4 separate regions of the Homo sapiens genome follow, and regions 1, 3 and 4 are each linked to region 2. Evidence: promoter capture Hi-C in human tissues and cell types (Jung and others, 2019). All regions are on one chromosome and are shown on one strand. The core of a region is centred on a gene start or on the middle of the fragment in contact, and the rest is flanking DNA. Distances in the headings are between cores, read along the strand shown.

Region 1 (2,944 bases), core at 166-2,665, 290 kb after region 2:
CCTTTGGCTTATTGTAGAAACCAAGTAGGGTGGTGTTTGTAGTGGATACGAGATTTCTGTCCCATTATCTAATTTATCCTCGTGAAAAATTCCACATACATAAAAAGTAGTTTTTAAAGAGGTTCTTAAAGAAATGGGGATTATTATAAGGCAAGTAATTATTTCAATAAGTGACTGCCCAGGGTACACACACCCTTATCCCCGCTCTGCTGTGCTTATCAAGGATAAAGGCTTTCCCTTTCTCAGTTCCAGCAAGACAGCAATGAACTTACAAAGTCAAGTGAAATACCCAAAAAGTGTTCTTTTCCTAACCGGGTCCTCACCCGGTTAGGATCTGGGGTGTCTGGCTTTGTAGCTCTTGCCTTTAACAGGTTATTTTACCAACAGCAAAATTACTGTGCTGGGCAGTACACCTACTGCTGGGACAGGCGTCTCAGGCCAACCTGCGCATGCAGTCATGCAGGTGGCTTTTCCCTGTTAAGCAGGTAAAGTGGGCAGCCACTGTCCTTGGCCTGCGTCTTTCTTGCTCCATGTGCTTTTAAACCATTCAGATGAGACCGTGTGGGTCCTCCCTGACAGTCTGTGCTTGATGTCCTTATTATCGATGTTTGTTTGCAGCTGAGGAGTTTTTCATAGCAGTGTTGTGCATAGACCAGCACCGTGGAGGGGGAGTTTGTCATTTGAAGCTTTGACTCTAACCCCATTTCCCTTCTCTGCTCTTCCTGGGCCTGTCCAGGGTGAGGATCCACGACCTCCGCAGTGGTAACATCGCCCTGTCGCTCTCCGCCCATCAGCTCAGGGTCTCTGCTGTGCAGATGGATGACTGGAAGATCGTCAGTGGAGGCGAGGAAGGCCTGGTGTCCGTGTGGGATTATCGGATGAACCAGAAGCTGTGGGAGGTGTATTCCGGGTAAGGTGCATTCTAGACACTCTTGGGAGTTCCTAGTAGGAACAGGGAAGGCAGCACTAATCAGCCTGCACCAGGCACGGTGCTAAATGCCCCCTACCCCCCGGCTTCGCCAGGTGAATCCTTACTGTGACCCTAGGAGCCAGCTGCTGTCCCAGCACCGCTCTGCAGAGGAGGAAACAGGCTTGGAAATGGCGCTGGTCAGTGGGGATGCAGTTCCTGTCTCTGACATCATTCAGATCGCCACAATTCCTACATTAGCCAGGCCCAGCTTTCTCTAAGAATGAAACTACTTTTTTGCAAGTGCTATTCTGATTATTTTAGGATTTCTCCATCTTAATAAACAGAAAAGGGAACTCAAAAACATAGGAAGCTCGCTGGGCTAGACCAGGATGTGACACCCCACCTGCCCACAGGTGGAAGGCAGGGCTGGCCCAGCTGCTGTCCTCCACTCGAGTCCGTCATGTGTAACCATGGTTCTGCCCGTTGCTTAGACTTTCCTCATGCTGTTTACAGAGAAGAGCACTTAGGACTGAAGGGGTTCAGGCTCCAACGAAGGAGGAATTTGTCATTTCCACCTTTAACACCACTATTCAAAATATAAATAAATACTATCCTAAGCACAGGCTGATGGCGTCACAGAGGTAGGTAGGTTTACGCCAGTGGCACCTAACTGGTTAAGACATTTCCAGTGAGCCTGCTTCTGACCTTCAAAGCAGCAGCCCAGCCCAGGGCTGGCTCATCAGAGCTGACTTGAGCCCACCTGCCACCACCTCTACCTGGCCCTGCAGGCCTCGAACAGGAGACCCTGCGTTTGAGACAGGTGGGGAGAAAGGCAGCCGGCCCTCTCGCTTGCTGCCCTCAGCACCACTGTGAAGAGACATTCGGCCAGACACGTGGCTCACCTGTAATCCCAGCTACTCAGGAGACTGAGGAGCTCTCAAGGCCAGGGGTTTGAGGCTGCAGTGACTGTGTCACTGTACTCCAGCCTGGGTGACAGAATGAAACCCCATCTCTACAAAACCGAGATGATTCTGGGCCAGTGGCCTCTGAGCATGACAACATAGAAGAGCAGAAACAGGGCAAGGCCCTCCCACAGGAACTAAGATTTGTTCCCCACTTACCGCAAATCAAGGTAAACCGACCTCTGAGAACACAACCTCTGAGCAGCGACATGGTCTTTATGGAAGTGCAAGGTCAGCAATTTGACAGGTGTCTCCAAGAGGCGGCAGGGTTACATGCAGAATGGGCTTCTTCCTTGGAGGGCAGTGTTGGCAAACACTGTGGCCGGCACATTTTATCAGACAGAGCCCTGGGTACTGCCTGGCCCGCCCCCTCGCTGTGGCTGTGCCTGTTGAGGGCGCCTCGGCCCTTTTTCTGAATGGTGATGCACTGAATTGCCACCAGGTGGTGCCAAACGGCAACTAAAACTCCCGCACTGAAATTCCCGGAAGCATTGCCTTTGAGGAAAACCCTGGATCAGCCATCCAGGTCCTCAGGGATGGCTGCCAGCCCCCAACTCCAGTAGATCTCATTTTTCTCTCAGCAAAGCTTCACTCCCTGGGACAGGCCACTGAGATGAAGCCTAGCTAAGGAAGGCCTTCCCCAGAGGTGTGGCCCTGTCCCAGCACTGCCTCTGTCCCTGTGCGGTCCAGGCTTGTCCCCCACGTGGTCACTGTTTTCACCAGCACAAGGCTGACAGACACATGGTCTCCTGCCCAGAACTCACTGACTTGCTCAAGGCCTCACCTGCAGTGCCTGCTGCCAGGCCCCAGTCTGGCTGTTGTTTGGTCACTGTCATGTACCTCCCGCTGTCCGCTTCAGTCTCTTCAGCCCAGGTCCTCGCCTGCCTGACAGGGTGCCGTCAGTCCTCCAGGCTGCAGGCCTCCACCAAGCCTGCCCTCCCTCCCCGGGTCTTTCTCATCCTCCAGGTCCCATGCCAGGTCCACCAACACTTTCCTTCAGTCCTCCAGGCTGCAGGCCTCCACCAAGCCTGCCCTCCCTCCCCGGGTCTTTCTCATCCTCCAGGTCCCATGC
Region 2 (3,148 bases), core at 142-2,641:
AAACGAAGGGCACCCATGCGAGGGCTGGCCGACCCTCGCCACCTATGTCTTGGTTTCCCCCACTGTAATACTGGGAACCCCACTTCTCCCAGGCCTGCTGCGAAGATGAAGCCAGCAAATGCACGCCCTCTCTTAGCTCTGGACCGGGCAGGTGAAAAGCAGGGAGGTGTTCATAAAAGCAGTCCCCACCGCTGAAGGGTCCTCAACTCGGGGTTCTAGTCCCAGCTCTGCCCTGGCCTAGCAACCCCTTCCCGCTGCAGGGACCAAGGCGGTGGGCAGGTCCCTCACCCGTGCTGAGACCGGGACAGGAATGCGCACCTCTCCCCACCCTCGGACGCCCCGGCGGCGCCGCTGCAGAAGTCGGGAGGTCGGACAAACGCGAGGAGTAAGGAAAAAGAGGAGGAAGGGAAGGAAGGAGGAAGAACGAAGTGAGGAAAGAGGATGTCAGGGAAGAAAGGGAGTAAAGGAAGAAGGAAGGGAGAGGGGGACAGAAAGGAGGAGGACGGAAGGAGGAAGGGAAGGAAGAAAGACGGAAGGGAAGGGAGAGGAAAAAGGGGAGGAAAGAAGAAAGGGAAGGGGGAGGAAGGAAAGGGGGAGGAAGGAAGGAGGAGGAAGGTGAGGAAGGTAAGGAAGGAAGGGAGGCAGGGAGAGGGGAAGGAAGGAGGAAGATAAGGAAGGAGGGGAGGTAGGAAGAAGGGAAGGAAGGAGGAAGGAAGGGAAGGGGAGAAAGAAAGGAAGGGAAGGGGTAGGAAGACAGGGAGGAAGGAAAAAAGGAGGAAGGTAACGAAGGAAGGAAGGAGAAAGTAAAGTAAGGGGGAGGAAGGAAGGAAGAAGGGAAGGGGAGGAGGGGAAGGGCGGCCACTGACCTGCTTGAAGGTGCTGCTGAGGAAGTAGACGAGCGACAGCCCGAAGACCAGGGCGAGCACCCACCTCTTCCGCAGAAGCCGGCGCCACACCATGGCCGCCAGGTTCACCATCCCGGCGCGGACGTGGGGCGCGGCGGCCGGGGCGCGGAACGCGGCAGGCCCGGGTCCCGGGCGGCATGGCCCCTACGCGCCCGGCAGCCCCATCCCTCCAGGCAGGCGCCGGCCCCGCCGCCCGCAGCCCAGTCTGCTCCCGGCAGCCTTGGGCGCAGCCCCACGTGACCCCGCCCTACGCCCCGCCTCCGCTCCGCAGCGACAAGGGCTAGTCGCGCAAGATCTTCTCACCATTGGTCCCTAAGGAACGGCGGCCTCCTATTGGTTAAGTGCCGGGAAAGGGGGCGGACAATCGCGTGAGTGCTGCGGGCGTAGCTGTGCCCGGGTCCTAGCGCCGGACCCGGCGACGCCAAGAAACCACCCAATAGGAGGCCGGAAGCATCGGAAGTCACATGCTGCCCAGGCTGCGCGGGTGATTGGCTTGGCTGGACCTGAATGATGCGGCTGTGATTGCTGAATTGTCTGGGCAGGTAAAAAGAGAACGCGATTTTTTTTTCTTTTCTCCCATCATGGTCTGTGTAGTCTCCTGCCCTTGCAGTCCCAGAGCGTTTTGCGCTGTGTGTTGGTTGCAGGGATGAAAAGCGCTCGCGACGTTGTTCCCGAAGTGCACCTGCCGGCTTCCAGTCCAAGTGATGCAGGCGATGCTCCTCTGAGTGCATTTCGGTGCAGTCCTGTAACGGGCCCCAGGGGCGCAACTTGAACCATCGCAAGCATCGAAAAGTCTCGGTGCGGTCCTTCAAAGGGACATAGTGGGATGTACAGAGCAGAGGATTAAAAAGCGTTTCATTCATTCAGATGCATCCCGCGTGCAAAAATTTATTCCAGAATTATGTACGGCCTGCTTCCGACAAAGAATCCGAAGCCTCTTCCAATACAAGCATCCGAAAGTAGAGTTTCGAGCATTCGATTTAGGAGTTAAATGTGTGGATGAGAACTTTGGAATATGAATTTTATTTTCCCCCAAGGATTTGCAATGTGGGATAATGGAGGGAGGGGCGAGAGGAGGATTAAGTTGAGATTGCAAATTCTTGAAAAATATTTATATAATGACCTTTTCTTGATATATGAAGATGCTGCTGCTGACCGGTTTGTTACCTAATTTTTCAAAAGAGAAAGGAGGCTTCACTGGCGGGTCATTTTTAATCAGTGGCCCTAGTGACACCATTGCTGCCCCCTCAAGAAGCCTGGTCAGGATTAGGAAGTCATTCAACAGCCAATAATCGTGCCCTAAACTGAAGTCAGACACCATCTGACTGATATAGACACCCTATATCCACAATATTGGCTCTGCCTCCAGAGACAAGAAGATATTCACGGAGGCTAAACCTTTTCATGGGAAGTAGATGGCCCTTATTACCTTGCTAGGGTGAAAGGTGGGACAGGGAGCAAGGGATCTAGAAAAGGGGAACTGGGAGACCCATAGATGTTTTATTCATTGAGTAAATACTTGTTGAGCGCCACTCTGTGCCAAACAGTGTCCTGGATGCTGAGGCAGAGGGGTGATCCAAGTAGACAGGATCCCTACTTTCAGGAATGGCATTTATATTCTAATGGGGAGGACAAATCATAAATAAATAAGCAAACATGAACAAATAAGTGCTATGAATAATATAAAACAGGGCAATATTACGGGGAGTCAGGAGAATGAGAAGAGAAGGCCTCTGGGAAGAGACGACATTTGCCCTGCGGGACCAAGCCCTGCCACATTTAGAGGAGAAAGTATTCCAAGGGGAGGGCACAGCAAGTGCAAAGGCCCTGAGGCAGGGACACGCTGACACATTAGAGGAACAGAAGGGCCACTGTGGGTGGACAGGAGTGGGAAAAGGGAGAATGGGAGGAAATGCAGTTGGAAACAGATGATGCTACATCAGGAAGAACCCGTAGGCTATGGACAGAGCTCGGGTTTGATTCTGATTGCACTGGGCAGCCGTTGGAGGGTTTAAAACATATTTTCTGGCTTCCCCAATCAGGACTCTTAGTTTGACAATAGGATGAAATACAATACCTTAAGAGTTTCAAAGAGGGCCGGGCATGGTGGCTTATGCCTGTAATCCCAGCACTTTGGGAGGCCAAGGCAGGCGGATCACTTGAGGTCAGAAGTTTGAGACCAGCCTGGCCAATATGGTGAAATCCCATCTCTACTAAAAATACAAAAATTGGGTGGGCGTGGT
Region 3 (3,292 bases), core at 425-2,924, 460 kb after region 2:
CCTCCCAAAGTGCTGGAATTACAGGCGTGAGCCACCGTGCCTGCCCACAGGTAAGAGTTTTTAAAGGCAAGGAGGCAGAGGTTACAGGCAAAGCCATAAATCAATTACATGGAGGCTATCCATTGGTTTGACCTAAAAAGGCGGGACATTTGGAAGCAGAGGCCCACAGGTCATAGGTAGATTCAAAGGTTTTTTGTTGTTGTGTTTTTTGTTTTTTGTTTTTTTGAGACACAGTCTCACTCTGTCGCCAGGCTGGAGTGCAGTGGCACGATTTCAGCTCACTTCTACCTCTGCCTCCTGGGTTCAAGTGATTCTCCTGCCTCAGTCTCTGTAGCTGGGACTACAGGCGCACGCCACCACACCCAGCTAATTTTTTGCATTTTTAGTAGAGACGGGGTTTCACCATGTTGGTCAAGATGGTCTCGATCTCTTGACCTTGTGAGCCGCCCGCTTTGGCCTCCCAAAGTGCTGGGATTACAGGCGTTAGCCACTGTGCAGGGCCCTGGATTCAAAGATTTTTTGACTTGTATTTGGTTAAGGAGGTGAAGCTTTGTCTAAAAAAATTGAGATTTGCAGTAAAGAATGTTAGCTCTGGCTGGTAGCCGTGATCTCCTCTAGACCCCACAGGAAGAAATTTAGAACAAAAAACAGTGGTCAGGGTTCGGTCCTCAGTTTCTCTTTATGTGAGGTCTACGGCCAGTGGGTCTGTTTGGTGGGGGTCTGGGATCCTGAAAAACAACCCACAGACGTGTGTTAAGACACTATCCTTAGTTTCTGTAAGCGAACCAGACATCCCATGATTCTAACTTTCTTGCTAGTGTTTTGAGCTACTATTACCTTCTTGCTTATCAAGTCACTCATTTACTTCTCAGCAAGGTGCCTGGAATTACTAGCGAGGTGCCTGGAATTTCCCTTGAAGGAACTCAAAATTTTTCTTCATTTCCATGCTTGGGAGTTCCTGCTCTATCCCACAGTCCCTGCTAAAATCACCCTGCACAAACTCAAATCCTAGAATAAGTCCCTCTGGGATCCCTCCTCCCTGGCTTCCCAGTGGTCCTCTAGGGTGGCCTCTCCCTTGCTGCAGCAAGGTAAAAACTTATCTTTGTTGGACTACAGATGAATTTCTCGTTATTTTTGGCTGGCGAGGTCAACACCCCTCTCCAGTGAAATCTCCACAATCTAGCCGCAGATACCATTTCAACTACCCTCAACACTGTCCACACCTGTTTTGCCAAGATCCAAGCTCCCATTCTTTCTGTAATTTTAAGATGTTAATAAGTTTCCAAACTCCATGGCAGCGGGGAGGTGAGTAATCTTTTGGTGGGCCTCTTCCGTGTGCATGTTCATAAATTTGTATGCCCATTCTCTCTTTCTCTCTCTTTTTGTTTTGGAGACAGGGTCTTGCTCTGTTGACCAGACTGGAGTGCAGTAGAGCAGTAATAGCTCACTGCAGCCTTGAACTTCTGGGATGAAGCCATCCTCCTGGCTCAGCCTCCCAAGTAACTGGGACTACACGTGTGTGCCACCATGCCTGGCTATTTTATTTTTTGAGATAGAGTTTCGCTCTTGTTGCCCAGACTGGAGTGCAGTGGTGTGATCTTGGCTCACTGCAACCTCCACCTCTTGGGTTCAAGCAATCCTCCTGCCTCAGCCTCCTGAGTAGCTGGGATTACAGATGTCTGCCACCACACCCAGCTAATTTTTTTGTATTTTTAGTAGAGACGGGGTTTCACCATGTTGGCCAGGCTGATCTTGAACTCCTGACCTCAGGTGATCCAGCTGCTTCGGCCTCCCAAAATGCTGGGATTACAGGCGTGAGCCATCGCGCCTGGCCTATGCCTGGCTATTTAAAAAAAAATTTTTATAGAGATGGGAGCTTGCACTGTTGCCCAGGCTGGTTTTGAATACCTGGCTTCAAGCAATCCTCCTGCCTTGGCCTCCCAAAGGCCTTTTCTCTTATTAATCTGCCTTTTGTGAGTTGATTTTTCAGTGAAACTTCTGAGGGCAAAGGGGAAGTTTCCCTTAGTCCCTACAGTGTTCCTTGTCCTCATAATTAGTACTTACATCCTTTCTTTTCTGGTCCACTTCTCTGCCCACCTGAGGGCCTTTGCTGATACGGTTCCTTTTCCCAGGAGTGCCTCCTCAGCCACACCTACTCATCTTTCAGATTTCTGCTCAAGTGCTCCTCTGTAGGAACACAAGTCCATGAACCCAGGCTAGGCAAGCTCCTTCTGCCTTGTGCCTTCTCAGAACCCTATGCCTTTCATTCAGTACACACTCACAAACTGTAGGAATGCATACATGGCCATGATTACTAGATTCACCCTCCCGCAGGGGCAGATCTGGGTTTAGTGGAGCCCGGAGCTTACGCTGTTTGGAGGCCCTATTTTATTGTATTTTATTTTAAGACGGAGTCTTGCTCTGTTGCCTAGGCTAGACTGTAAGTCTCGCTCTGTAGCCCAGGCTGGAGTGCAATGGCGTGATCTTGGCTTACTGCAACCTCCGCCTCCCAGGTTTAAGCGATTCTCTCACCTCAGCCTCCCAAGTAGCTGGGACTATAGGCACACATCATCATGCCCAACTAATTTTTATATTTTTGGTAGAGATGGTGTTTCACCATGTTGGCCAGACTGGTCTCAAACTCCTGACCTCAAGTGATCTGCCTGCCTCGGTCTCCCAAAGTGCTGGGATTACAGGTGTGCGCCATCACACCTGGCCTGGAGGCCCTGTTTTAGAAAAGAGATACACAAGGATGAATTCACAAGTACACAAGAGTACTAGAAAGAGTATGTAGAATGAGAAAATAAGTGGCCTTGGAAGGGAGGGATCTTTCCAAGGGAGGGGCCTTAAAGTTAAGCTTCATCACTTCCATCAAATCTCTTTCTATAATATAGCAACTGGCTGGGCACAGTGGCTCACGCCTGTAATGCCAGCATTCTGAGAGGCCGAGGTGGGTGGATCACCTGAGGTCAGGAGTTCAAGGCCAACCTTGCCAACATGGTGAAACCCTGTCTCTACTAAAAAATACCAAAAAAAAAAAAAAAAAAAAAAAATTAGCAGGGTGTGGTGGCACATGCCTATAATCCCAGATACTCGGGAGGCTGAGGCAGCAGAATTGTTTGAACCTGGGAGGTGGATGTTGCAGTGAGCCAAGATCATGCCACTGCACGCCAGCCTGGGCAACAGATTGAGACTCTGTCTCAAAAAAAAAAAAAAAAAAAAAAAGGCAACCTCAGCTGGGCGGGGTGGCTCATGCCTATAATCTCAGGACTTTGAGAGGCTAAGGTGGGAG
Region 4 (3,308 bases), core at 222-2,721, 260 kb after region 2:
AGAGGTTTAAAGAGTATGAGCTTTGATACCACCCACCCAGGTTTGAATCCTGGTGCCAAAACTTCCTAACTGGGCAAGAGGTTTGAGCTCCTTAGGGCCCCATATTCTCCTGTGTAAAGGGAGTAAAATCATGGTACCTATCTTACAGCACTGTGGAGGTCAGGTGAGATAACGCATCATAGCAGTGTTTTGCATGTAAGAGAATATTATAAATATTAGCTGTTATTAATAACTATTTTGGTAGGACAGGAAAGACATTGTGATATGGTCACAAAGTGGCGCAGGAATGACACGAGCTGCGCTCCACCTAGTGCCACCTCAGCTCCTTTTGTTGCCCATGTAATTTGGGGCAAGCTACTTAAAATTATTTAAGCCTCAGTTTCTTGATGCACAAAATGTAGGCAGTAGTATTTGTCTTCTCTCCCTCTTGGTGGTTGTGAGATTCAAATGGAAGGATATTCCGAAGGAATTTGTGTGAAAGGCATGTCCTGGGTATTACAAAGAGCTCATATGTGTAGTGTTTGTTTATGTGCAAAATGCTGCTAAGCATGTCTCTGCCAATACCTCATGCACCATGTAGAGTGAGTAGAGGCCGTTATGCCTTAGGGAGCTGGGGGGAGCCCCTGGGTGGACCTGCTGCCCTCCACCAAAGGCCCTGATTATTCGCTGCGGCTTCCCAGTCTCCCCCTGGGGCTATTTGTTTCAGTGATCTGATTTTAGCTGCCTGCCTGCCCTCTTCTAGAAGCTTTTGTCCAGTCTAACTTTGGGCCAAACTAGAAGTTGCCAGGCTAGTCAAAAGAAAATCGATAACCAAGCTAGTGTAATATACTGAATTTCATGTGCAATGTTCACTAAGTCCTGTCGGCATACAGATACTTGTACATTATGAGCATCTCATGGTAACCTTTTCATTTTCAAAATAGTATGCAAGTTGCCTTTAATTTTAAAGAGTTCACTTCATAGTTTGCAGCCTCAGTTTTCACTCCGTAAGATAGATATTATAACCTTCTCTTGGTGATTATTTCCGTGTGTCAGTGTTCCTGGCATTTTGACACTGCCCATGCTCTCTGTGGGGATGAGGCCTGTTGGGAGCATGAAGGAGGGTGTAAGGATTTTCAGCTCCCAGTCAGTCATACATTTGCACGATGGTTATCATCTCTTCGCTGGACTCACTGCTCTGACATGAATATTCCCTGTTTGTGTTATGTGAGCATTAACCAGGTCTTCATGATCACATTTCTTACCCTTACACCAGCACTGAGACAAAAATGATCCCAAAGCAAAGAGAGAACCATATTCTGCTCACTCCACAAAGTAGGCCTGGCCTTCCTTTATTATTCCCAGCACCTACGGACGTGCTGAGAGAGAGAGATTGGCCGGTTTGGATGGTTTTTGCCTGGATTTGTACCCGAGTGTACTCTTGCTCTGTGGGTTCCTTTCAGGCTTAGGTCACAATAGGTGTTGGTTTGGCCTCACTCCGGTCCTTTGTAGACATCTGCCCACATCACAAAGCCCCCATGTTTGGCACAGCCCGCAGCAGTTGGCACTGCCTGCCCGGGAAGAGTCCAGTCCTGGAACAGCGGGGGTTGCAGGTGCATTGGCACGTGGTGGTGGGGAGCGCACACAGGCCTTGCCTACCCAGCGCCTGGCGACGCTCAGCAACACCGTCCCATCCCTGAAATATCTTGGCCTCGTGGGCTTGTCACTCCAATTAAAACTTAAACATGAAAGCGGCTCAGGCTGCTTCTCCCTTTGTGCTGAATTTGAGCATGGACGGTGCCAGAAGCATGTCGTGGAGACTGTTAAGGGGTGCCATGTTGCAGGGAACGTTGAGGGGGTCAGGGATCCATTTCTTCAAGATTTGCATCTTGCCGGTTGCTGCTGCGAAGTGCACCTGAAAGGCAAGCTTCTGTTTGCCAACAGAAAGTCACCTTTGGGATGGTGGTGAAAGTCATTTTCCACATGTTCACAGATACGGCCGTGTTACCAAGCCTCACGCTATGACTTATCTCTGGCAAGGACTTACAAAATAGTCTCTCTGGCTGATTGTCAAAAATTACATCATATCGGAGTAAACTGCTTTTAAATCAGACATCCATTATTCATGTATATTAACTGCATTTTTATTTTTTTATTGGCTGTTTTGTGTATGATTTACTCTTTTGTCACTGGCTCCCCCTCTCCCCAGTTGTCTATCTTTCTCATTCCTGTTTTTTTAAAGTCTTAGCTCATCTGTGAATTTATAGAGACTGTTCACCTAGCTTTGTGCATGAACGTTGATAGGCACACCTTGCATTTTTGTAGTTCAATTCCACGTTTCTGTGGATCTTACTTTTGTTGGGTCAGAATAGCAATGTGGGTCGTTTATGTGAGTAAATTCTACCATGAAGATGTATAGGACTTTTTCTTTTGTATCTTTTGTTTTTTAAAAAGGAGCATCACTAGTCTTGTATGTGAAGATCTGTACTGAATAAAAGTGTACCTGGCACTTAGCAAACAGCTGTATACATTGCAGTTGGTGGACAGCAAATCGACTTTGTGTGTTCATTTGTATGCGTGAAGCCTGTCTTTACTGTAAGGCCAGCATAGCAGTCGCCTGTAAGGGGTAGATACACGCAGACATGTACAGTGTGTATTCATCTGCTCATTCTTTCATCACCTGTATACTGAGCCCCTCCTATGTGCCAAACACTGCACAGGTATCCAAAGGAGCTTCTGTTCCTTCCAGACAGTGCGGGGGGCGCACCCTGGGCATCTGGCATCTTCCATGGTTATGGTACTTTTTCCTGATTCATGGCATTTGACTGGTTGGAATAAAGACTAGGTACAGATTATTCTATGTATTTAACCCCCAAATCAACATTGTTTTTGCAGACAGCATCTGGATTCTTTTATGCTCATTACTTGAATCTTTGTTGACTATTTCTTCCAGCACCTCAGACCTTTTTTCTGGAATGATTTTCTGTCTCCCAAAAGTGCATTCTTTAGAAGTTTCTTTCATAAGGACTTGGTCACAAGTGTTTTCCGTGTTTCTTTCTTACAGCACCTTCATTTCATCCTTATCCTTGAAAGGTAGTTTTGCTAGTCTTTTACAGTTCTAGCTTGACAGTTATTTTTGCTCAGCCTTTGAGGATATGACTGGTTTTGCCTTCCACTGACACTACTGACGAGTTGGCTGTCAGTCTGTCATTCTCTTTTAGGACTTTCTCTCCTTTTGACTGCTTTTAAGATCTTCTCCTTGTCTTTAATTTTCTGTGGTTTCATGCCAATGTCTCTTTGTATGTCTGGGATTTATTTATTTATTTTTA

The links. The method cuts DNA at HindIII sites, captures the fragments that hold promoters and counts their contacts. A contact is called where the count stands out against the background at its distance.
Region 1: a fragment that was not itself captured here is called in contact with the fragment with the promoter of RNFT2 in region 2 in 1 of the 25 tissues and cell types used here (spleen).
Region 3: a contact is called between a fragment that was not itself captured here and the fragment with the promoter of RNFT2 in region 2, in 1 of the 25 tissues and cell types used here (spleen).
Region 4: a contact is called between a fragment that was not itself captured here and the fragment with the promoter of RNFT2 in region 2, in 1 of the 25 tissues and cell types used here (thymus).

Annotation. Positions count from the first base shown.
Region 1 is chr12:117,023,411-117,026,354 of GRCh38, forward strand. It overlaps FBXW8 (F-box and WD repeat domain containing 8), which reads left to right. Exons shown (of 11, transcript NM_153348.3): 9 at 737-910. Among named protein-coding and RNA genes, the nearest start is that of TESC, 75 kb to the right of the region's middle. RefSeq lists enhancers at 715-1,914, 1,234-1,769, 1,770-2,305. The HindIII fragment of the contact is 3,500 bases long and covers 1-2,944 here.
Region 2 is chr12:116,736,924-116,740,071 of GRCh38, forward strand. RNFT2 (ring finger protein, transmembrane 2) reads left to right here and starts at 1,392. Exons shown (of 11, transcript NM_001382266.1): 1 at 1,392-1,447. SPRING1 (SREBF pathway regulator in golgi 1) reads right to left here and starts at 1,146. Exons shown (of 5, transcript NM_024738.4): 1 at 867-1,146. The coding sequence starts at 977. RefSeq lists enhancers at 1-646, 1,415-1,674 and silencers at 835-884, 965-1,224. The HindIII fragment of the contact is 23,901 bases long and covers 1-3,148 here.
Region 3 is chr12:117,196,413-117,199,704 of GRCh38, forward strand. No RefSeq gene overlaps it. Among named protein-coding and RNA genes, the nearest start is that of FBXO21, 7.6 kb to the left of the region's middle. The HindIII fragment of the contact is 3,668 bases long and covers 1-3,292 here.
Region 4 is chr12:117,000,623-117,003,930 of GRCh38, forward strand. The region is part of intron 7 of FBXW8 (F-box and WD repeat domain containing 8); the gene reads left to right. Among named protein-coding and RNA genes, the nearest start is that of FBXW8, 91 kb to the left of the region's middle. The HindIII fragment of the contact is 4,366 bases long and covers 1-3,308 here.